4 separate regions of the Homo sapiens genome follow, and regions 1, 3 and 4 are each linked to region 2. Evidence: promoter capture Hi-C in 16 types of primary human blood cells and fetal thymus (Javierre and others, 2016). All regions are on one chromosome and are shown on one strand. The core of a region is centred on a gene start or on the middle of the fragment in contact, and the rest is flanking DNA. Distances in the headings are between cores, read along the strand shown.

Region 1 (6,505 bases), core at 3,188-5,687, 910 kb after region 2:
CACTTCATTATCCAATTGCATTCTCGGGGGATCTGAGGGTGCGACTGCTCTGCAAAAGCAGCTGCTTTCACTTTAAACAGTTTTAGCTCAAAGCCTGAGGCATACAAGTTCTCTGTGTGACACTGTTAATGAAGAAGAAAGTCTCCCAGGAGCTCAAGAAAATAAAAATAATGAAAATAAAAGGCTTTGACACTCATCCAAAAAAAGCTTTGCTCCTCAATATTTGCAACATCTATGAGAAAAAGTGTCAAGGACAGGAAAGGTCAGGGTAATGAGTGAAAGGAGCACACATTCCAGGATTTGAGCATGCTCAGAGAACCACCCATGACAGGCACCATGGCCTTCCAACCCAAACTAACAATTTCCTAAATTATGCAGCCCAGTTGCTCATGCTAACTCCAGAAATCCTCCTTGGGGAAAAGCAGAAGTAAACTGCATATTGCTGACTAAGAGATAAAAGGTGCACATTGTCATGATCACAAAGATGGACCTCAAAGAAGTTCTGTGGACATTCTCTCCTTCGAGTCTCATAAGAACACCTTAAATCACACAGGTTAAACATCACTAACCAGATTGGACAGATGAGAAAATTGAGGCTCAGAGGGAGTTAAATAACTTGCTCAATATATTTGTTCTGCTGCAAGTGAAGTAAACCAAGCCCCCAAAAAGAAGAAATAGATTAACAGGCATAATCAGGAAGGGAAGGGAAAACTGGGCTTAAGAGCAACTGAACCCAGGGATTCTACCACCATCAGGACTCCCTCATTCTCTGCCTCTTGTTTCTGCTTTTCTGGCTTTGTTATCTCAGGCCAGCTGCCTCAGAAGCTCCAAGCCAAAACCCTTTGTATTAGTCTGTTTTCACATGGCTATAAAGAAATACCCTAGACTGGGTAATTTATAAAGAAAAAAGGTTTAATTGATTTGCAATTCTGCATGGCTAGGGAGGCCTCAGGAAACTTAAAACCATGGTAGAAGGGGAAGCAGGCACCTCTTACATGGTGGCAGGTGAGAGAGAGAAGCCCAGGGGAAACTGCCATTTATTAAACCATCAGATCTCCTGAGAACTCACTCACTAGCATGAGAACATCATGGGGGAAACTGCCCCCATAATCCAATCACCTCCCTCCCTTGACATGTGGGGATTACAATTTAAGATGAGATTTGGGTGAAGACACAGAACCAAACCCTATCACCCTTATAGCCTCACAAATAACAAGAAAAGAAAGTCTTTCTGCCAGCTCCAAGTAGCAGAACCTTGGAGAGCATTCTAGTTGACCAGACTGGACCACCACTGTGGCTATAGGCATGGGAAACTATCACTGGCCCTGGATGTGTTTCTAGACCAAGTAAGGGGGATGGGGACCAGGCAACCAAAAACAGTAGCCTCTATAGTCACTGTTAGGAAGGCCACAACAAACAGACCAGGAGGCAGACCTTCCAACCTGGACCTCATCCATTGTTACTGACTCAATGAGTGCATGTATATTGCAGTAGATACCTAGCAAGGACCAAAACAGATGTGGTCCCTGCCCTTATGTCACAAAATCTAATGAGAGAGGCAGAAGATAAACAGGTAAAGAGACAGAACAGTAACTGCTAATTGTAACAAGTGCCATGAAGGAAGGCAACAGGGTGAAGTGAAAAAATTAGGCAGCTGTTCAAATGAGATGTTTAGAAAAGCTCAGAAGAGGGGCCATTTGAGTTGTGATCTAAGACTTAAAAGAAGCCAGCCAAAGAGAGTGAGGGGAAAACTGTTCCAGCCTCAGTGAAGGAGCTCTGTGTGCAGAGGCCTTGAAACAGGAAAGACCCTGGCCCCACGCTGGGAAATAAATAGAAAAACAGGATGCAACATACCTGTGAGAGGAGAGTGGAAAGATCTGCACCTGGGGAGCAGGCAAGATCCAATCACATAGTGCATGGCATGCCTCGGAAAGGAGTTGATATTTTACTCTAAGGCAATGCAAAGCCACTTGAAGATCTTTAAGCCTCAGAGTACAATGAAATTATTTGTACTTTTAAAAATTTATATGTGAAGAATAATTTGGAGGGGAGCAAGGGTGGAAAGAGAGGGACTGGATAAGAGGCTGTGATTGCTGTAATCCAGCAAGAGTTGATGTGGCTGAAACTACAGTAGTGGCTGTGGAAGTGGAAAGACTGAGAAGATGAGAAGTACACTTAGCAGGAGCAAAGAGACAGGGCTTGTAGAATCAGATGCTTGGTTTGAGGGAGAAAAAAGAATAAGAGAGGACTCTCTGTACTGAGCAGGTGGCTGAATGGTGAGGTCATTTCCTGAGAGAGAGAAAACTGAAGTTAAACAGTTTGAATAGGGAAGAGATGGAGATCTCAGCCTGCGATAACTAATTTTGAGTTGAATGTGAGATATGAAAGTGGTGAGGAGGCATTTACATATTTAAGTTTGGAGTTCATCCGAAACTTGAGCTGGAGATGGAAATTTAGAAGATATCAAAATATAAATGATAATCAAAGCTGAAGGCATCAATGAGATTACTTATGGAGTGACTATGGAGAGAAATAAGAGTAAGACCTAAGACTGAATTATAAGAAACTGCAAAACATAAAGGTAAAAGAGGAGATCCAATAGAAGAGACTGAAGATGATCAAAGAGATAGGAGGGAAAGTGAGAATGATTCCATGGAGATCAAAGAGGAGCGTGTCTCACTGAAGAGGAAATAGCTGTGTCAAAGTTTCTGAGAGGTCAAGAACAACGAGAACAGAAGAGCGCCATTGAACTTGTCAACACAGAGGTCCTTGAGAGCAGTTTTGATGGAGGATAGGAATGACACCCAGACAGAAGTGGGTTGGAGAAGGAGCGAGGAGTGTAGAGAATAAAGACAGCATGTGACACGCCCTTCCCAGTTTTGTGAGAGAAGTGAGAAGTGAAATGGTAGTTGGAAAAAGATTGGGGATTGAGAAAATTTTGTAAAGAACTAGAGGTAGTTACAAAGAAGCCGTTACTGTGTCTGCTATATAAATTGGATGACTGTTAAACAGTTCTCAGTTAAAAGCTCTCAGTTAAACAGTGTTCCCAGGCTTTAAAATGTTCATTCTGTGGAACTAGATGTTCCCCAAGGTTCCTTCCATATCTGTCCTTCTAAAATTCTACAAGTACTCCTTTTTCAAAAGTCATAAAGAAAATATCCAGGACTGATATTCAAGCAGCTCCTCCTCATTTTCTTCTCAATTCATTTGATCATTAATTTATTCATTCATTTCCCTAGAAGGTGAGTGCCACAAGGGCAGGATTTTTGTTCTTTGCAGATGGGCACGTAATAGGTGGTCAATAAATATTTGCTTAATGAATTAACAAATGCATAGATTCAATCAGCAGGCATAGAGTACCTACACATGTGGAGCTCACTCAAAACCACTCAACAAACATTCAGCACCCAACAAATGCCAGGCTCTATGCTAAACACAACTCAGTCAGCCTCTTCTTAAAGTGGAAAAAATTAGGATCTGTTCTACCTGCTTCACAAGGCCATTATGAGAATCAAATGGGAAATACAGGCTCTGAAGAAAACTTTGCAATAAACAGGGGGTGTAAAAAAGACTTTGCAAATACCATAGTACCTTAGAAAGATCAAATGTTATTAATAAACATGGCTCTGCCCTCAAGAAGTTTGTAGTGAAATTAAAGAAATGAGAAAAACATATGAGAGAGATGTAATCACTGTTTTGTGGGTACCTAAGTGTGCCTCAGGCAGTAGAATGCTTTACATGCCTTCTCTCGCCCCACCATTGTACCCACACCTGAGATGGGTATCAATACCTTCAGCATGTAGATGCAGAGACCAACGTCTGACAGGTTAAATCACTCAGCTAGTAGGAGACAAAATGGATGAAAAGCTAGGTCTGTTTCTTTTTCTAAAATATTTTCTTTCACACAAAAGTAAATCTTAGGAAGCATTTGAAACCATTGTCCCTGAATACTAGCAATGAGTAGGTGAGGGAGGCGGGAACTATCATTTACTGCATGCTTACTTGACGCTGAACTCTCTATATAGATATCATTTAACTCTTATTTGTGACATAAGGCTTACATCCATTTGGTACACGAACACAAATTTCAACTGAGGTCTCCAATTCACTGATAATAACTAAAGTAGGCTTAAGCAGCACCTGTTATTTTGTGGAAAACCCAATGCTATTTTCAAGGTTTTGGAAAATTCCCAGGGATTTCATGTCTTGAGGTAAATTCTAGTTCCAAACACACTTACCTCAACACATGCTGTGCCCACAGCTGATCTCCCCCTTCTGCTGGGCACCAGTGCAGACCTGAGATGCAGAGCCTTTGATTTCACGCAGAGATCACTCTCGCAAAGCATTAAAAAGCATATGGTAGGCTTTGCGTTATGTTTTGGGAGACAGAATAGCTTTACATCCTAGCAAAGTAAACAGCGTAAGATTGACTAGCAGACAACCTTGCCCATCATATCCTTTGTTCAGGTGACTCTAGGAGTTTCTCACTGTTAATTTTTCTGCAGACACTCCAGCCTTCCCCTGAAGACACTCCTCACATGTGATTCCCCTTGTGAACACCTACGGAATTGCCTATGTAGAAGCACTTATTTTAAATCCTGCCCCTTATCCATCTGTAATAATCCTGGGGGTTTACACGGTTCTTACATTACCCCAGTGACTGGTCAAGTTGTGGCCATCTATTCCATGTTCAGCCAATGAGGCCCCTCCCTGGGCATTTTGGAATCGGGACCAGAGAAGCAATTGGGTCAGCCCCTCTCTGACGGCATCCAGCACCTCTAGTGATTGATAAATTTCAGCATCAGCTTAAGCCAATGTAAGCTGCTGCTTAAGCATCAGCTGAAATGTATCAATCTCTAGAGGTGCTGAATGCCATGTTTCAGCAGAAAAAGAAAGCCAGTTTTCAGGGAGAGAATGAAGCATGTTTACAAAAAGGAGCCAAGAGGAGAAAAAACAAGATATGAAAAGAGAGATAGTCATGACAGTACCCAAGACACTCATTTTGGAGTTCCCAGAGCCCAGACACATCCGTGTTCTTCAGCTCCATCTCTTGGGCTGTCAGCTTCTAGCAACTGCTGGTGAATTTGAAATGTGATCCTCCTTTTCTCCTCCACCAATCTTTGTATGTAAATGAAAGCAGTAGAGAATTATCTCCCTCCACCATATGAATTATGCCAATCATGTTAGAAGATACAATCAGTTTACTCTTAGTGAAGAACTCAGCTAACACAGACAACCCCTGCCAGCTCTGACAGAAGCAAGGACACCCTATAATGCTTTCTACCAGGCATCCTACCCAGCCCCAGCAAGAGTCAGATGTCAGGGTTCTTCCCATCAACCTCATGCCCAGGTAGGATATGGCTTACACTGCTGACTTAGCTGGTGGGGTGGACACTGTCCAGGAAGCCTTGTCTGTCATCTCACAATGCACAAAAGGGAATGGAGTATCAAGGAATTTAAAGAACTTGCTAAAGTCAGAACAAGTAAGAAGAGGTAGAATTTGAAATTGGGTATGCTTGTGTGTCATTAACATGATGGTGGGACAGAAGTGCAGGCCCAAGTGCAGACCCAAGAAAGCAGGGCTGGGGGATGAGGATGGGAGAAACCCATCTACCAGGGGTCTATAGAGCTTTGCCTTTTCCATATTGTTATTTCTTTTCTCCTTCCTCCTTTATTCTTCTCCTACAATCGCTTCCTTCCTCTACCTTCTCCTCCAACCCTTCTGAGCCCCAGGACTCCAACTGGCATGGAGGAACACAAGTGGCTCCACTCTGACTACTGACCATCCCCCTGAGGCCAGTCAAGAGACCTTGAGCCCTCACCCTAGAAAACAAGACAATCTTGTGCAGAGGACACTGTGATCCACTAAGGACAAGGCACAGCAAAGAGAATTCCAAGTGAAAAAAAACAAAGGAGGCTGAAGAGAGGGCTACACATTGCTCACCACAGTCCTTGAATAGCCTTCCTTGGCTTTCTCTGGAATCCCCTCTCTTCTCATTCTCTGAAAAGGGAAGGCTAAGAAGGTATATCACAGTCTTCTATCTATCAAAGCAAAAGGGTTGTTCTTAGTCCTAAACAAGTTAATCCCAGCTTCTGTCCTGACTTCCACAGGAGCAATCTATGTGACCTTTGGAAAGTCATTTAAAAAAAAAAAGTCAAATCACTCTATGGAATATGATCCAAATCTCATAAAGTATGTGTATATAAATGGCTGCTTGCACAAAGGAAAAAAAGCAGAATGAAACACATCAAAATGTACTGTGGGGGAATTTTAAGAAATTTCTTCTTTATGCTCTTCTCTATTTACACTGTTTGTACAGTGAATATGTATTACTTTTATAATTATAAAATTCCTCACTGAATATCTCTGGGCTGTAGTTTCCAAGGGTATCGAATATTAAGTGTGGATTGCACCTGCTTTGCTTCTGTCATAGTGCTATTTTGGGAATAAATAATATAATGCCAAAAACTGCATGATCCGTATCACCAGCTGAGGTTACCAACA
Region 2 (6,202 bases), core at 204-2,703:
AAGAGTTGGCTTTCACCACTGCAGAGGCTCTGAGTGAGCTGCCAGGGCAGCAGAGGGAGGCTGAGCTGCAGGAGTGCTGTTAATGGATTTTATGGCTTTGTTGAGTACCTCAAACTACAGTTATTAATTAGAGGATGCTGTTTAGGCACTCTTGCAATATATACATTTTGTTAATTGATTTGTATAGGCTCATAGCTAGCAACATAAAGAATGTGCAGGACCATAACACTTACAAGGGATTGTAATTGCCTTTGCTGCCCTCTCTGGCTCCCCAAGCAGGGAACAAAAGCTTTGAGGATAGGACCCACTCTCTCCTCTGTCTTTGGATCTCCAACGACTAATCCAGTGCTCACTGTCAGGGTGATACAGCCTGTCTAGATGCTCAGCAAACGTCTTGAATCAATGACTAAATAAATAATATTGTTTGTTTCTGTATTTCCATATCTACTTTATTTCCAAACTATTCCTCATAAACCCTGCATTGTGTGTGATGTTGGCATTTCATTTAGGTAAATATGGTCAAGGATTTATTCTGAGTCCTTACTGTTTTTTTTTTTTTTTTTTTTGAGTACCTTTGTAATTTTTTCACGGCCTAGAGATGGTTGAGGATGCAAAGATATGCACTGGCTCCTGCACTCAGGGAACTGACAATACTCAACGGCACGAGATTTTACAATGCATGACGTCAAGTAGCCTGTTCTTAGAGATGCGGAGTGACAACATAAAGGTGGCAACTTCTTGCATGGCACCATACCGCAGGGAATTTTAAGTTTGACACCCCGCCCCCGCCACTGCAGCCTCAGCAGGCCCAGCACCCCAAGTTTTCTGATCTAGCTGTTCTATCAGCCTCTAAGAGCCGCGGCTGCCCCTGCTTCTCGGAGATGACGCGGAGCCCTGCCATTGCCATCCAGGTCCAAGGCTATCTACTCTGCCCGACAACCCCTAGCACCACTAGGCGCTGCTCTAGTGTGCGCCTGGCGCCCTCCCCAGACCAGTCGACGCAGAACGCCCAGAGACCCAGCCAAGGGCAAGACCCTTAGCGACGCCCGTCAGTCCTCTCCGCCCAGATATCAGTTCAAAGGGCATGGCAGGTCAGGGTCCCTCGCGCCACCCCAGATGACCCTCAGGCCTCGGGTGGCCACTTTCTGGGGGAGCCCTCCATCCCTTGCGGCAGCTTTTCCGAGAGTCGGAGTGGAGGCGCGGGGCTGGAGGGCTCTCCGGAGCCGCCCACCAGGGTCCTCTGGGGGCCCGGTCCCGACTGGGCAGGGGGACCTGGACAGGGCCCCGGAGCGTGGAGACGGCTGAGGAAAGTTGGGGGTCGGGGCCTTGGGGCGGGGAGCGCGGAACCCGGCGCCGATGCCCGCGTTCATGAATATGCACGAGCCACCTCCCTCCCTCCGTGACGTCACGGGCCGTCCCGGGGTGAGCGCCTGAGCCGCTCCGGGTCCGCGCCAGTGAGCGCGGCTGCTGCCGGCGAGCTAGCGGCGCAGCGGCGGGAACCCGAGGCCGAGCGCCGCGGCGGCAGCGCTAGAAGCGCACCCATCGGGCACGGCGAGGCGGCCCACGGTGCGGCAGGCACCGGGAGGCGAGAGCCGGCGCGGACAGTAGGCGGCGGCTGCAGCTCGTTGGCGGCTGCTGCGAGGATGCTGCCTGGGCGGCTGTGCTGGGTGCCGCTCCTGCTGGCGCTGGGCGTGGGGAGCGGCAGCGGCGGTGGCGGGGACAGCCGGCAGCGCCGCCTCCTCGCGGCTAAAGGTGGGTGCTGGGGAAGTTTGCTCTTCTCCCAGGAGGGAGGCAGGGCAGGCTTGAGGGTGAAAGCGGCAAGGACCTAGGCTCAAGCTGGATTTGCCCACCCTCCCTTGCCGCAGCTTCTTTGGCCTCTGTGCGCCCTGGATTCCCGAAGTCAGTTCCCTGCGCAGCGGACCAGAGAGGTCCACCCGCGGACGTCAACTCAACCCCTGGGCGGGGTCCGGGGGCTGAGCAGAAGGCGAGGTCTGGGGAGTACGGACAACTTTGAGGGCTGTCTGTGCCGGGGTGGGAGCGCAGTGGGTGAGTTTCGAGCTCTGGCCCAGGGACGGCTAGAGCAGGGCGCTGGCGCGCCGTGGGGACAAGCAGGTGTCTGCTCCTGCCTGGGGGAAGGATCAGCGGCGGTGCTTTCAAGGAGGGAGCCGAGCTGTGACTTGTCTCCCAGCTCGGGGATGGAGTGGAAACTTGTAGGCTCCAGGGAAGGCCCCGCTGACACTCCTCAAGCTCCCCCAGGGCGTCTCTGACTCCCCGGGGAACGTGTACCCTCCGGGTAGGCGGCGGGGTCCGGAAGAAGCGCGGGATGTGAGGCTCCCCGCTGCCTTTCCTACTCCGCTCTGACTACCGAGGACCGAGGAGCCTAACCTGGCACCACTCCCCTGCCCACCCTGTTCCTTTGAAGAGCTTGACCTCCCCGCGCCTCCCGCCCGGAAGGAAGCTAGATCCAAGCGAACGCCTGGCTCTGTCAGGCGAGCCTGGAAGCCGGCGAACCCCGGACTTTGACAGCTGCCTGGGAGCGTCGGGAGCTCTGGGGTGGGGGGCCGGGTCTGAAACAGGAGGTCACGTGCTTGCAGGGGGTGGGGAGGCGAGGGAAGAGCAGAGCTGGTGGGGAACAGTGGTGGGCTCAGGGGAGGCTGTGGCAGATCCTAGCTGGGGCGCACAGCTTAGTGATAACTTGTTGATTCTCTGCGCTGTTCATAAGTAGGGCTTGCGTTTGGTTTGTGGACTGTGGCCAAATCCGCCAGGTGACAATGAGGGGTACTTGGTCCCCAAATCCTGCCTGGCAATCATCAGAGGGCGGAGGGGTTTGCGCCTGTCAGAAAATAGATTCCCTGTTAGAGACAGCCTGATTCGGACGCTTGCTTTGAGCTACACTTGACCACTAGCTTAGGGGAGGAAATGCCTATCAGGCTGCATTACTCTTGGAGGTTGGGGAGAGCTGGAGGCAGGCAGTTCGCCTTGTCTGGGCTTTAGAAACTGGCCCTCCAATAACTTAGGAGTGATATATTTGAGAAGAACATGGGAGATTATGTTTATCTGTAATTTTTAAATTTTTTGGTGTCATCGTTTTGAAAATATTTTATAAGCAGGCATTCTGTTTCTTTTCAGCATTTTTTTTCTTGGTGTATCTTTGACAGGCAGTTTCTATTTTTAGAAATGAGAAATTTCATGAGAGAAAAACTCGTTATGAAAATATCTCAGAGTGCGGTAAAGAAGTGGCTGATATGAAGGGATCAAGCTGAGAGACTGTTGTTTTGGTGAAGACAAGAATAAAAAACAATGAACTTCCAAACATCTCCCCCCTGCTTTCCCAATATAGACACTTTGTTAAACAGGCAAATTACTTTTTTGGGGGGTGGGGGGGAGGAGATTTCCCATCACTTTGTAGCACAGTAATTGATATAAGCAGATGTCTGCAAACGGGAGTTTGAAGGAGGGTGAGAAGCACACAGCAAGTGCAGAACAGGGAAGAAATCATTTGGGAAGAGGATCTGGTGTGAGTAGTAATAATGCACGGCTGAGTTCTCAGGTCAGAATGGGAAGCTTCATAGAGGTAAGCGAGAAAGAGAAGGAGAGAGATAAAAAAGGAAAATAAAAACCCCAGGCTTTCAATGATTCACTTTATGTGGATAATTATGTGCATTTTAACCAACATCCGACTTAGAACATATTCATTTTTTGGTTAAAACTAGGCATTTGTCAGGTCGGGCATGGTGGCTCATGCCTGTAATCCCAGCACTTTGGGAGGCCGAGGCGGGCGGATCACCTGAGGTTAGGGGTTCGAGACCAGCCTGACCAACATGGAGAAACCCCGTCTCTACTAAAAAAAAAAAAAAAAAAAATTAGATGGGTGTGGTGACACGCACCTGTAATCCCAGCTACTCGGGAGGCTGAGGCAGGAGAATCACTTGAACCCGGGAGGCAGAGGTTTCAATGAGCCGAGATCGCGCTATTACACTCCAGCCTGGGCAACAAGAATGAAACTCCGTCTCAAAAACAAACAAACAAACAAACAAACTAGACATTTGTTTTTCCAGGGTAAAAAGTTTATTGGCCCTGCAGATTGAGAGTTAACTGTCCGAATTCCCCTTGTTCTCGCTTCTTTCCCCTTCCAACCACTGGGGGGCTGCAAAGAGCTCTGTTTGCTGCTGATTTTTTTTTCAAGATAAATGTGTAATATTTGATTACAACAGAGACATTTATTATGACACTTTAGTTAGTATTTACAGGACTGACTTTCCTTATAACAATGCACTTGCATTTTATGTTTCCAAATCATATGATCTCTGAAGAATGTTTGAAATGATAAAGCTGTATGTTTTGTGTATAATGCACCCTGCCTCTGACTTTGCCATTTTTAAGGTTCATACCATTGTTATTCCCATCACAAAAAAAAAAAAAAAAAAATCAGGAAGGCGTGTGAAGATTGAACAAAAAACCAGATACTTCTTTCGTACAATTCTGTATTCATGTGTAGAAAAACACTGGGAGTCTGGAGTCAAGCTTTCTGACAGAGTTGAATGCACCCTCCAAACAACTGTCTGGAAGCATGTGCTCCCAGCTTCAGTCTTGTGTAAGATGTTGTGTCTGTGGTGCACAGCTTGTTCTGCCTTTGTGCTTCTTGCTTCTTGCTTCTTGCTTTAGGGACTCGAGCAGTTAATCCCGGACAACTACCTGGGGTTTTCACAGAATCACTGTACTTTCAGTGTAGACATATTTCCAATTTCAGAAATCACACAGTGGCCAGGCAATTATAACTCCTTCCCTTCACCCTTACATATTTTGGCTATTCAAAAAAGATAAATACTTCTTGGATTCCATGAAGAGACCAGATCACATGCTCATGTTCTATGAGTAAAGCTGGTAAGGTGTTGTGGACCCAAAGAGTTTCTGGAGGCAGAGAAAGACATGTCTTATCCAAGGGAAGGAAGACAATGCAATCTAGACAACACCTCAAAGTTTGTGCTAAATTTGGCAAAATGTCAGTGGTCCCAAGACCTCAAGGACTTGGTACACAGTCCTTCTTAAGTTCCCAACATCTAGGCATAGAGGTCATTTGGAACAATACTCAAGTATAGACCATCAATTGTTGTAGTGCCCGCCTTGTGTGCTAAGAGCCTTGCTCAGTGCTCTGGTTCTGAGCCAGTAGCAGAGGACCACCCTCCACCCCTCCCACCCCTACCTTTCTTTTTTTTTTAATTTTTATTATTATTATACTTTAAGTTTTAGGGTTGAGGAGCTTCTGTTTTAGTTGGAGAGACAAGATTTTTATGTGAAAATTTTAAGAGAGTGGCAGCGGAGAGAATTTGTCCAAAGTATAGTATTGACTGTGATAGAGACACAGGCAAAGGAGATGGGAGTGCAGAGACAAAGTTTACAAAAGCAGCATGTGGTAATAGGTAAGGAGGAGGATGGAGCAGAATTATAACAACAGTATGGTGTAATTGTAGTAATTTCAGTGTATGGAGTCCCTCTTTAGTATGTCACAGGCACTGTTGCTAATCCCATTACATGGGCAATCTCTAACTCTTACAACACATGCAGAGCCAGTGTTAGCCCATTTCACAGATGAAGAAACAAATTCTATGAGAGGGTAAATGAACTTGCCAAGACCTCCAGCTAGAGGGTGTGGCACTGGGATGAGAATATAAAGGTCACTATACCCAGTGCCCCCTATTTGTCAGATAGTCTTCCCAGTGGTTTTGAAAGCAGGTCTAGGGACCACAAGGAAGCTGAGCTGTTTGCATCTTTGAGTTACCCAGGAGCCCTTGTGGTCCTGCCCACAGAAGAGCACAGTATGAGTGTCTAAGGCTGTTTAAAAGGGCATGCAGGTGAGGTGAGGGAAACGGACCTTGCTCTCACCATGGAAACCAATGTTCTCGCTTAGAGCAGTCACCTCATTCTCTCTCCCACAGATTCAAAAACCATCCTTGAATATTCCAGATTGCACACTGCAGAACTTCCTGCAGGGGCAAAGGTAGTGTGGAATTTTTATGGTGGATTGTTCTAAGTCATCTTTGGGTAAGTAGCAGGTGTCTTCTAGTGGTATAACAGAGTCATTTTTCCAACTGAAGCACAAATGCCAAAAAGCCCTCAGCAATGCATCAGAAAGTGTACTCTGACCTGCTGCCATCCTGAAACGCCTGTGGTTCTTGGACCGGAATGTGCCCTTTACCTCTCT
Region 3 (6,299 bases), core at 3,681-6,180, 950 kb after region 2:
TCCTATGAGAAACAAGCTGCCCCCTCGCCCATGTCCACTATGCCAAGGCAATCATTGGAAGGCACACTGCCCCAGAGGACAAAGGACAGAAGCCCCCAACCAGATGATCCAACAACAGGACTGAGGGTGCCTGGGGCAAGCGCCAGCTCATGTCATCACTCTCACTGAGCCCCAGGTATGTATAACCATAAAGGGCCAGGAAATTGACTTCCTCCTGGACACTGGCACAGCTTTCTCAGTGTTAATCTCCTGTCCTGGACAGCTGTCCTCAAGGTCCGTTACCATCAGAGGAATCCCGGAACAGCCTGTAACCAGGTAGTTCTCCCACCTCCTCAGTTGTAATTGGGAGAATTTGCTCTTTTCACATGCCTTTCTTGTTATGCCTGAAAGTCCCACACCCTTATTAGGGAGGGATATATTAGCCAAAGCTGGAGCTATTATCTACATGAATATGGGGAACAAGTTACCCATTTGTTGTCCCCTGCTTGAGGAGGCAATCAACCCTGAAGGCTGGGCATTGGAAGGAACAAACTCAAGCTCCAGTCTTAAGCCTTCCCACAGGAAAAAACTTTTCTTTATACATCACAGAGAGAGCAGGAATAGCTCTTGGGGTCCTTACTCAGACTCGTGGGACAATCCCACAACTAGTGGCATACGTAAGTATGTAGATAAGGAAATTGAAGTAGTAGCAAAGGGCTGGCCTCACTGTTTATGGGTAGTTGTGGTAGTGGCTCTCTTAGTGTCAGAGGCTATCAAAATAATACAAGGAAAGGATCTCACTATCTGGACTACTCATGATGTAAATGGCATACTAGGTGCCAAAGGAAGTTTATGGCTATCAGACAACTGCCTGCTTAGATACCAGGCACTACTCCTTGAGGGACCAGTGCTCAAGTGCATACATGTGTGGCCCTCAGCCCTGCCGCTTTTCTCCCAGAGGAAGGGGAGCCGGTCGAGCATGGCTGCCAACAGGTTGTAGTCCAGACTTATGCAGCCCAAGATGATCTCTTAGAAGTCCCCTTAGCTAATCCTGACCTTAACTTATATACCGATGGAAGTTCATTTGTGGAAAATGGGATACGAAGGGCAGGTTATGCCATAGTTAGTGATGTAACCATACTTGAAAGTAAGCCTCTTCCCCCAGGGACCAGCACCCAGTTAGGAGAACTAGTGGCACTTACCTGAGCCTTAGAACTGGGAAAGGGAAAAAGAATAAATGTGTAGACAGATAGCAAGTATGATTATCTAATCCTACATGCCCATGCTGCAGTATGGAAAGAAAGGGAGTTCCTAACCTCTGGGGGAACCCCCATTAAATACCACAAGGAAACCATGGAGTTATTGCACACACTGCAAAAACCCAAGGAGGTGGCAGTCTTACACTGCCAACCCATCAAAAGGAGAAGGAGAGGGGAGAACAGCAGCATAAGAGGCTGGCAGAGGCAGGGAAAAACCAGCAGAAAGGAGTCAAAGAGAGAGAAAGAGACAGAAAATCAGAGAGAGAGACAGAGAGGAAGAGAGAGATAGAGAGAGGAAGAGACAGACAAAAAGTCAAAGAGAGAAGGAAAGAGAGGAAGAGACAAAGGATCAAAGATAGAGATAGAAGTAGTAAAGAAAAAACAGTGTACCCTATTCCTTTAAAAGCCAGGGTAAATTTAAAACCTATAATTGATAATTGAAGGTCTTCTCTGTAACCTTATAACACTCCAATACCACCTTGTTGTCAGTGTAAACAAAGGCATAGCCCGAAAGCACTGAGGCCACTGTCAACCCGTAGCCTTCCTATCAAAAATCCTTAACCCAGCAGGTTTCCTAACATGGGATCTAAATCTGAAGGTCCGACCAGACATAGGAGGAACTCCCTTCAGGACAGGACAATAGATGGTTCCTCCCAGGTGATTAAGGAAAAAGACACAATGGGTATTCAGTAAGTGATAAGGAAACTCTTATAGAAGCAGAGTTAGGAAAATTGTCTAATAAATTGTCTGCTCAAATGTGTCAGCTGTTTGCACTCAGCCAAATCTTAAAGTACTTACGGAATCAGGAAGAAGCCATCTATACCAATTCTAAGTTAATATGGACTGAACAAGGTCTTATTAATAGCAAAGAATAATTGAAATCCCAAACTTACAAGGTTTTCAACAAAAGTAAAGTTTGCTAAAAGTTAACAGTGTAAACATATATTATCCTAACTTCTAATCTTGCGGAAATCAGACCCTATCAGTACCCCTCAAAGCTCAAGTCTGTCAGCACAGAGCCATACAACTAATACCCCTACTTATAGCGTTAGGAATGGCTACTGCTGCAGGAACTGGAATAGCCAGTTTATTCCTTCATTATCCTACTACTACACACTCTCAAAGGATTTCTCAGACAGTTTGCAAGAAATAACGAAATCTATCCTTACCCTACAATCCCAAATAGACTCTTTGGCAGCAGTGACGCTCCAAAACTGCCAAAGCCTAGACTTCCTCATTGCTGAGAAAGGAGGACTTTTGCGCCTTCTTAGGGGAAAAGTGTTTTTACACTAACTAGTCAGGGATAGTACAAGATGCCACCCAGAGTTTACAGGAAAAGGCTTCTAAAATCAGACAACGCCTTTCAAATTCTTATACCAACCTCTGGAGTTGGGCAACATGGCTTCTCCCCTTTCTAGGTCCTGTGGCAGCCATCTTGCTATTTCTTGCCTTTGGACCCTGTATTTTTAATCTCCTTGTCAAATTTGTTTCCTCTAGAATTGAGGCCATCAAGCTACAGATGGTCTTACAAATGGAACCCCAAATGAGCTCAACTAACAACTTCTACTGAGGACCCCAGACCAACCTGCTGGCCCTTTCACTGGCCTAAAGAGTTCCCCTCTGGAGGACACTACAACTGCAGGGCCCCTTCTTTGCCCCTATCCAGCAGGAAATAGCTAGAGCGGTCATCGGCCAATTCCCAACAACACTTGTGGTGTCCTGTTTAGAAGGAGGATTGAGAAGTGAAGCCAGCTGGACTTCTGGGTTGGGTGGGGACTTGGAGAACTTTTCTGCCTAGCTAAAGGATTGTAAATGCACCAATAAGCGCTCTGTGTCTAGCCAAAGGTTTGTAAATGCACCAATCAGCACTCTGTAAAAATGCACCAATTAGCACTCTGTGTCTAACTAAAGGTTTGTAAACGCACCAATCAGCACTCTGTAAAAACGGACCAATCAGCACTCTGTAAAATGGGGCAATCAGCACCCTGTAAAACGGACCAATCAGGAGGATGAGGGCGGGGCCAAATAAGGGAATAAAAGCTGGCCACCCGAGCCAGTGGCGGCAACCTTCTCAGGTCCCCTTCCACGCTGTGGAAGCTTTTTTCTTTCACTCTTCACAATAAATCTTGCTGCTGCTCACTCTTTGGGTCCACACTACCTTTATGAGCTGTAACACTCACTGCAAAGGTCTGCAGCTTCACTCCTGAAGCCAGTGAGACCACAAACCCACCGGGAGGAACAAACAACTCTGGACGCACCACCTTTAAGAGCTGTAATGCTCACTGTGAAGGTCTGTGGCTTCACTCCTGAAGTCAGCGAGACCACGAGCCCACCAGAAGGAAGAAACTCCTCCAGACACATCTGAACATCTGAAAACACAAACTCCGGACACACCATCTTTAAGAACTGCAACACTCACTGCGAGGGTCCATGGCTTCATTCTTGAAGTCAGCGAGACCAAGAACCCCTCGGAGAGAACCAATTCCAGACATAATACCTATGGCCCCTTGGGGATTTCTCCACAGACAGTTGACAGAATAGAAAAGGAGCAGGAAAAGGGCTTTATAAGGATTAGGCTAGCATGATATGCTGGCGTGAGCTAAAAATATGGACTGTTGCTGCACTAAAGACACACCCAAAATAACTCTGGGTGCCAATTCAAGTCCAGTGGTCATCTGCTTTGTGTCTGGAGAGAAGCGGCCAAAAGTAAGAATATACACAGACTTCTAGGTGGTGGAGAATGGCTTGGTTGCTTGGTCAAGGGCCTCAAGGGAACAACACTAGAGGATTGAAACCAAGCATGTCTGAGGAAGAGGCATGTGGCTGGAGCTATAAGAATGGGCACATAATGTGTTGATCTTTGTGTCTCACACTAGAGCCCACCAGAGAGCACGTGTGGCAGAAGAAGCACTGAATAAGCATATGGACAGGATGACTGGTCTAATGAATGCCTGTCAGCCCCTGTCCTCAGCCATCTCAATCCTTACAAAGGGCCCATAAATGAATGGATTAGTCGTGATGGCCTGAAATGATGGGCTCTCTCTCTCCAAGGCTGATCTAGCTACCACCACTACTGAATGCCTGACCATTAGCAACAGACACCAATGCTGAGTGCTTGATATGGTACAATCCCTTGAGGACATAAAGCAGCCACTCAGTGGCAAGCTTATTACCCAAGGTCTCTTCCACCCTGGAGGACACAACAATTCATCCTTACTAGAAATGAGAATGTCAACTTATAAACATAGAAGAAATGAAGGTATAAGAAAATCATTATTTTGAAACCATCATAATGATGGTTCATGCAGACAAAAATCAATAATGAATATGCATTTGTAAAAGTTTGATGAGGAGAAGGATATGTCCACCATTTCAAAGTACCTCCCCCAAATTACTTATTTATTACAGAAAGTAAAATAGTAACTTTACTATGTAGAAAACTACTGGACACCATCTTAACCAAGTGATCAAAGTTACAATCCCAAATCATCATCAGTTGACTCCTACCATTATGCACTGAGAAGCAAACAATATCACTTATGTAGTACTTTTACCAAAAAAAAAAAAAAAAAAAAATGCATAGGCCAAATCTGACCAGGGGAAACACGAGACAAATTCAAGATGAGCAACTTCTACAAAATAACTATCTGTAGTCTCTAAGATATAAACGTTGTGAAAGACCAAGGAAACCCTGAGGAACTATTCCAGATTGAAGGAAATCTAAGGGCTAAGAGTGATGATAACTAAAAGCAACATTCTTCTTGGACCAGAAGAAACAATGCTATGAAAAGCATTATTGAACAACTAGCAAAAGTGGAATGTGGACTATATGTCAAATTGTTTAATGCTTAAACATCGAGTTTCTTTAATTCATTAATTATACTGTGGTCATATAAAAGAGTTATCTTGTTGTTAGGAAATAAATACTGAATTACTAAGGTTTGAAGGAGCATAATGTCTCTAACTTATTCTCAAATGATTCAGGGGGAAAAGAAATAAATATACATGTGCGTGTGTCAAATATATATATTTCACGTGAAATATATATACATTTATATTACATATATTTTCATATATATGATATAAAGATGAATGATAAAGCAAATATAGCAAAATATTAACAATGGGTGAATCTGGTTAAAAGATATACATGAATTATTTAGTATGATTCTTATAATTTTTCTGTAAGTTTGAAATTACTTCAATATAAAAATGTAAATAAGCTTTAAGAATAAAGGATAAGAAAATATATTGTAGAGCCAGGTGCAGTGGCTTATGCCTGTAATCCCAGCACTTTGGGAGGCCAAGGCAGGAAGATTACTTGAGGTCAGGAGTTGGAAACCAGCCTGGCTAACATGGCGAAACCCCTTCTCTACTAAAAATACAAAAATTAGCCAGGCTTGGTGGCAGACACCTGTAATCCCAGCTACTCAGGAGGCTGAGGCAGGAGAATCCCTTGAACCTGTGAGGCAGAGGTTGCAGTGAGCCGAGATCATGCCATTGCACTCCCAGCCTGGCCACAGAGCGAGCATCCGTCTAAAAAAAAAAATTATAAGTGAACTCCCATTCACAATTGCTACAAAGAGGAAAAAAATGCCTAGGAATACAACTTACAAGGGATGTGAAGGACCTCTTCAAGGAGAACTACAAACCACTGCTCAAGGAAATAAGAGAGGATACAAAAAATTGGAAAAAAAATTCCATGCTCATGGATAGGAAAAATTGATATCGTGAAAATGGCCATACTACCCAAAGTAATTTACAGATTCAATGCTATCCCCATCAAGCTACCATTGATTTTCTTCACAGAATAAAACACTACTTTAAATTTCATATTGAACCAAAAAAGAACCCACATAGCCATGACAATCCTAAGCAAAAATAACAAAGCCTGAGGCCTCACACTACCTGATACAAGGCTCAGTAGCCAAAACAGCATGGTACTGGTACCAAAACAGATATATAGATCAATGGAACAGAACAGAGGCCTCAGAAATAATGCCACACATCTACAACCATCTGATCTTTGACAAACCTAACAAAAACAAGCAATGGGGAAAG
Region 4 (5,839 bases), core at 3,146-5,645, 810 kb after region 2:
ATGAGAAAATATGTTTTACCCTGAAACTCAAGAAAAAGTAGGAAATAGAGGTGAATTCTGGGGATGGTGAGCAGGAACAGGACTCTGTGGAGTAGAGTGAGTGGAAATGTCGCTGAATGTGGTGACCAAAAGATAAAGTGTGGGACTAATTCAAACGTAGACTGTCTGCATCATCAGAAGGAAACTTCTAAATCCTCAGGAAGGCTGCTACACTCACATTGACAAAACCTGAGGGTCAGAGAATTACCTAATAAAAGGAAGGTGTCTGCATGTCTGGGTCAATGCTATGCCATATGGAAAAAGCACCCACAGGCCCAAGAACCTGACCCATGACAGAACAGTGGGCACATAAGCCCCTGAGAAATTAACAATATCTGCTGGAGGTCTGTGAGCTTCCACGAGGCATAGAATGGGATTCTAAGCCAGCGTGAGGTCCTAGCAGCTGGAAATCCCAGCAGATACCTGGTCCATCCATGCACGTCTACATCCTTTCTCACAATAGGACTATTTTCTATCCATTGTCCCTGGGAACAGTGTGGTATTATGGAATAAACATAGGCCTTAGATATAAGAATATGCGAATGCCAATCCCAGTCCCTTCTTCCTCTCTGTGGGACCTTAGCAAATTGCCTTTCTCAGTCCCAATACCGCATCTAGAAGATGTATAGAAGCCATGTTTTTGAGGGTCAGCAACTTTATCAGTGAGGCTGGAGGCTCCTGGTCTGTGGCAAATATCCCCTAGTGAGGGTCCAGTCTGAGGGAGAGAAAGGAAACGGCTTGGGAGGAGTGGCGACATCTCCCCCTGCCCCTCTGCCAAGACAAATCAACTGCACAAGCCCTAAGAATGTGATGGCAAGCATCTGGGATTTACATGTGGTCACAGCTCCACATAGAATCAGAAATACATGTTCTCTGTCCTGTGTAACCCCTTGTCCACCAGTAGGTCTTTATGGGCTTCATTGTCAGAATGTGAATTCCAGCATGGTAGGCTTCACTAAGCTTGTTCTCTGTTGTAGAGTGGATCTGGGTCCTTGTTAGCAATGTAATGGGTGCAGCCTGGATTACATTCTTCCTACTGCTTTCCTAGGAAATGACCCTCCCTCATCCAATCTCAGGGTTGTAGCAGAAGCTCCATTGGATAATGTGACCCATGTGTGGCTATTAGAGACTGGTTCAAGGAAGGGCACTGCATTTAAGACTGAGAAGGGGGTCAGACTCTCTCTGAGTGGCTGGTTTGGTGCAGGCAAATTTGGGAGTGGTAGCAATGACCCTGTTCCACTGTGAGAACTGTGCAGCAAAGATGGTTGGACTACTGTAAGTCAGAGGGGCAGAGAAAACATGGATAAGTGAAAGAAAGTAAAGGCTCACTGGCTTGGGGTGGCACTCCACGCCACCTCTGGTCCTGCTGCCTGGCTTTTTCTCTGGGATTGGATTCAGAAACTCACTCTGAGATTTTTCCCACCAAGTCCTTCTTCACTTGAAGTAGACGGAATGGAGTTGCCAGAGCTGACATCCAGAAAAGGCCCAGCTAATGTGCAAACAAGGTTTCACTTGAAGGAGAGGAAGGACAAGGATGCTGAGTGCATGTGTTCTCAGATGAACAAATTGCCTCCAAGCTCAGCAAGTTGGGAAAACATACTCTAGCATTGTACACCTACAATCCGATGCCTCCCCTGGATGGTAATTTCACTCAGACACAGCAGTAACATTTTAGTATTTAATGGGATGCTTGTAGAGATTTCATTCCACGATGAGAACATTTCCTATTAAAGGAACAAAATGAAAAAAGAGTCATTCATTTCACATGAAAAACAGAGACTTTTTAAAATGGAAACACTGTCAATCAGGCTGAATCACAAGCTGTGATTAAAGCCTCCAGACTTTTTCCCATTTGTGCGAGCACATTTGAATTTTAGCCCAACACTGAGCCTGTATTATAAGAACGTCTAATGTATTCTGCTTTGAACATAATGCCAAACATGTCGTAAAAGTAAAACACTTATCACCTAAGTTCAAGCAAATTTTGGTCTTTTATTCAAGAAGCAGTCACAGCACCTCATTTACAACCTTAACTCAAAAGTAGATCTTCCTAATCAGAGAAATGAAGATAAAGCTGGAGTCTATTATCATCTGTGCTGCTGGTACATGAAGCATGGTTTATGGAAGAGAAGCCAGACATCTCTGGAAAAGTCAAGTTGTTCTCCCCCAGCCCACTACTGCTGTACCCAACAATGGGATTCTTTTTGCTGTTTCCATCCAAACAATGATTGAGCCCCCTGGGCTGTGGGCTGGATAAGTTAGACATGGTTCCTGCCCTCTGGAAATCCACCAGCTCATGCAGGAGGACTCTTCAGTTAAGGGACAATTATTACATGTACCAAGAGGCTGTGGATACAAGGAGGAGAGGCCTGGAGTGGGAGCAGCTGTCAGAAAGGGCTGCTGCATGATGTTGGAGTCAGTCTTCAGAGGAGGGGAAAGGCCTTCCAGGCACAGAGTGCAGCATGATGGGGCAGAGGTATGAAGAGCCTAACACATTAGGGGAACAGTGTGTCCTATGGGCAGCTCTCCCAAGGGCATGCAGTGACCTCTGCCCAGAACCTGAGAGGCCCAGGAACTGAGCAGCATCCCCTCTCAGGGAAGCAGAGGCGTACGTAGGTCTTAAGACAAGATAAGAGAAGCAGAAGATAGCCCCACGTTTCCTTGGTGATCTAAAGTGTTTCCAGAGACAGCTCTGGTCCAGGTAATGGGATAACTAAGGAAGAGACTAGAAACTGTTAACTCGATGCTCAGATGAACTAAAGAAAGTGGCATGACAGGCCTCAGCTCAAAACCTATTGGCCTTGCCCTCTCTGTGGCCAGTGCCCTTGCCAATTCCAATCTGGGGCCTCTGCTGACCTCAGAGACAGCCAGATCACCGCTTCCTAGATTAGGGCTTCTTCCTCAAGTCCATTCTCCTTTTTCCTTTCCCCAATATTCATCAGCAATTCTAATCAATTTTACCTCCAAAATATATCCCAAGCCTGCCCATGCCTGTCCCTCTTTTTTTGTCTCCACCTAGTCCTGGTCACCATCACCTCTTGTCTAGACAACTGCAACAGAGGGACATTTTATTTCATTATAAATCAGATCACAATATTCTACTCCAAACTCTCCAGACTTTCCTTCACACTTGGAATAAAATCCAAGCTCTTTTCCATGGTCAGGGGCCCAGCCCAGCTCTCTGGTCTCACCTTAGACCATCCTGCCCATGCTCAGCAGGTCCAGCTCCATCATCCTCCTTTCTGTATTCATCTTTACCCTGGCTCTTCTCACTGCCTGGAATGTGATTCTCACCTAACTCAAGAAGTCAACACAATGCCTAACTGATTGTCTTCATGGAACTTATTACTATTTTCTTATTGACTAGTCTCCCATCTCTGCTATACCATAGGTCTCATAGGAGGAGGGGCTTCTGAATCTGCATTCCTCAAGACTGTATTCCTAGAACAGGATCCATCCCACAAAGGGTATTCAAGGCACATTTACTGAGTGCACAAGTCCATGCATCTGCCAATATCTTTGAAAGCTTTAGACATTATGGAAGCCATGGCCCCTGGAATTTACCAGGCCAGAGAAGTGTGGCCCTTATGGAGGCTGCTGATGCAAGGAAGGAGTTCCATGTGCCCTGAGGTCTCCCAGACTGGGATCAAAGGCCCACTTTTCTGTGTTGGTAGAGCCTTCGTGACAGAGCATTGATGCCTCCACCACTAGCTGGCCACTCTGCTTCATAACTGTGCTGTATTAGTCAGGGTTCTCAAGAGAAACAGAAGCAATAGGGTATGTGTGTGTGTGTGTGTGTGTGTGTGTGTGTGTGTGTGTGTGTGTGTGTAAGAAAGGGGCGGATGGGAGAAAGAGAGAGATTTATTACAAGGAATTAGTTCACATGATTATGGAGGCTGACAAGTCACAAGGTCTGCAGTCAGCAGGCTTGAGACCCAGGAAAGCCATTGTTTCTGCCCTAAGTAAAGAAGGAACCAATGTCCCAGCTCAGCAGTCAAGCAAGAGGACTTTCCTCTTAATCAGCCTTTTTGTTCTATTCAGGCCTTCAACTGATTGGATGGGGCCCACCACATTCATGAGAGCAATCTGCTTTAATCATTCTGTAAATTTAAATGTTAATCTCACCCAAAAACACCCTCACAGGCACACCGAGAATAATGTTTGACCCAATGTCTGGGCACCACAACCCAGTAAAACTGACACACAAAATTAACAATACACACGCATTTTGTGTCTGTCTCCCCCACTAGGTGTGAGCAACTTGGGAAGAATTGGGTCTTATTTATACTGGATAATCTGCTTTAATACCTAAAACTTGGTAGGTGCTCAACAAATATCTGTAGAATGAATGAATGAATGAATCTCTGATTCCAAGAACTAGCCTCAGGTCTGGTCTAAGTTAAGACTCACAAACTTGGGTCACATTGAAGTGCCTATTGGCAAGGGATGGGAAGAGATCAGGATAATGTCTAAAGGTAGACCACCAGGCTGTCCAGAGGGTACAGAATATGTCATTCAGACCGTGAGAACTCACCCAGGAATCTCTGCACTGGCCAAGGCAGACAGGAGCAGTTTCACAGCACAGACTAGGCACCTAGCTACCGGCTGTAATGGCTTTGTCAGTTACTACCTGTGACCTGGTCAAAGACAATGACTCCTTGTGGCCTTAGTCTCTTCTTCCCTAAAGTGAAGGTGATAGTAATAACTTATTCACAGATTGCTATGAAGATGAAATTAGATAATCCATGAACAGAAAGTATGAGTTCATTTCATGACCCTTGGGGAAATAAAGACTTCTTTATTTCCCAAATCAGGTAAGTTTGGCTTGGATTGCAAGAAAATCAGATAAATAAAATGAAGTTATGTATAAAGAACTCATACAACTAAACAACAACAAAAAACCTGATTTTAAGAAGGGACAAAGGACATGACCAGATGTTTCTCCAAAGAAGATATACAAATAGCCAACAAGCATATAAAATGCTTGTTGCTCAACGTAACTAATCACCCAGGAAACATAAATCAAATCCACAATGTGATATCACCTCACACCCATTAGAATGGCTACTATTAAAAAAAAAGTAATAAGTGTGGGTAAGGATGTAAAGAAACTGGAAACCTTGTGTATTGCTGATGGGAATATAAAATGATGCAGCCATTGTGGAAAACAGTATGGCAGTTCCTCAAAAGCTTGAAAACATAACTACCACATAATCCAGTGATTTCAGTTCTGGGTATATACCCAAGAGAATTGAAAGCAGGGTCTTGAAGAGCAATTTGTATACCCATAGTCATAGAAGTATTATTCATAATCATCACAATGTGGAAGAAGCCCAAGTGTCCATTGACAGAAGAACACATAAATAAAATGTGGTTTTGTATTTAATAGAATGTTATTCATCTTCAAAAAGAAGGGAAATGTTGCTACATGTTACAGCATGGGTGAACTTTGAGGAGCTTATGCTAAGTGAAATAAGCCAATTACAAAAAGACAAATGCTATATGATTCCACTTATGTGAGATATCTAGAGCCATAGAGACTGAAGGTAAAGGGTGTTTGCCAGGGGCTGGGGAGAAGGGGAAATGGGGAGTTGCTGTTTAAACGAGTATAGAGTTTCAGTATTGCAAGATGAAAGAAGCTCTGGAGATTGATTGCACCACTATTTGAATGTAACTGCTGAACTGTACACTTAAAATGGTGAAGATGGTAAATTTTATGTTATGTGTATTCACAGATAAATCCACCTACACAACCAGTGAATCACGTTTATATCGCTCTTTGGGACTTTCCTATCCATCG

What was found. Contacts are between HindIII fragments. The CHiCAGO score rates a contact against its expected background, and 5 or more counts as called.
Region 1: a contact is called between a fragment that was not itself captured here and the fragment with the promoter of CLSTN2 in region 2, in 6 of 17 cell types (M2 macrophages, endothelial precursors, M0 macrophages and 3 more). The highest score is 8.2, in M2 macrophages.
Region 3: a contact is called between a fragment that was not itself captured here and the fragment with the promoter of CLSTN2 in region 2, in 4 of 17 cell types (endothelial precursors, total B cells, M1 macrophages and 1 more). The highest score is 10.8, in endothelial precursors.
Region 4: a contact is called between a fragment that was not itself captured here and the fragment with the promoter of CLSTN2 in region 2, in 1 of 17 cell types (endothelial precursors). The highest score is 5.2, in endothelial precursors.

What each region holds. Positions count from the first base shown.
Region 1 is chr3:140,843,835-140,850,339 of GRCh38, forward strand. No RefSeq gene overlaps it. Among named protein-coding and RNA genes, the nearest start is that of SLC25A36, 95 kb to the right of the region's middle. The HindIII fragment of the contact is 8,464 bases long and covers 206-6,505 here.
Region 2 is chr3:139,933,732-139,939,933 of GRCh38, forward strand. It overlaps CLSTN2 (calsyntenin 2), which reads left to right and starts at 1,454. Exons shown (of 17, transcript NM_022131.3): 1 at 1,454-1,752. The coding sequence starts at 1,644. RefSeq lists silencers at 1,452-1,501, 1,542-1,601. The HindIII fragment of the contact is 3,275 bases long and covers 288-3,562 here.
Region 3 is chr3:140,875,396-140,881,694 of GRCh38, forward strand. No RefSeq gene overlaps it. Among named protein-coding and RNA genes, the nearest start is that of SLC25A36, 63 kb to the right of the region's middle. The HindIII fragment of the contact is 1,058 bases long and covers 4,402-5,459 here.
Region 4 is chr3:140,738,229-140,744,067 of GRCh38, forward strand. No RefSeq gene overlaps it. Among named protein-coding and RNA genes, the nearest start is that of TRIM42, 63 kb to the left of the region's middle. The HindIII fragment of the contact is 1,664 bases long and covers 3,564-5,227 here.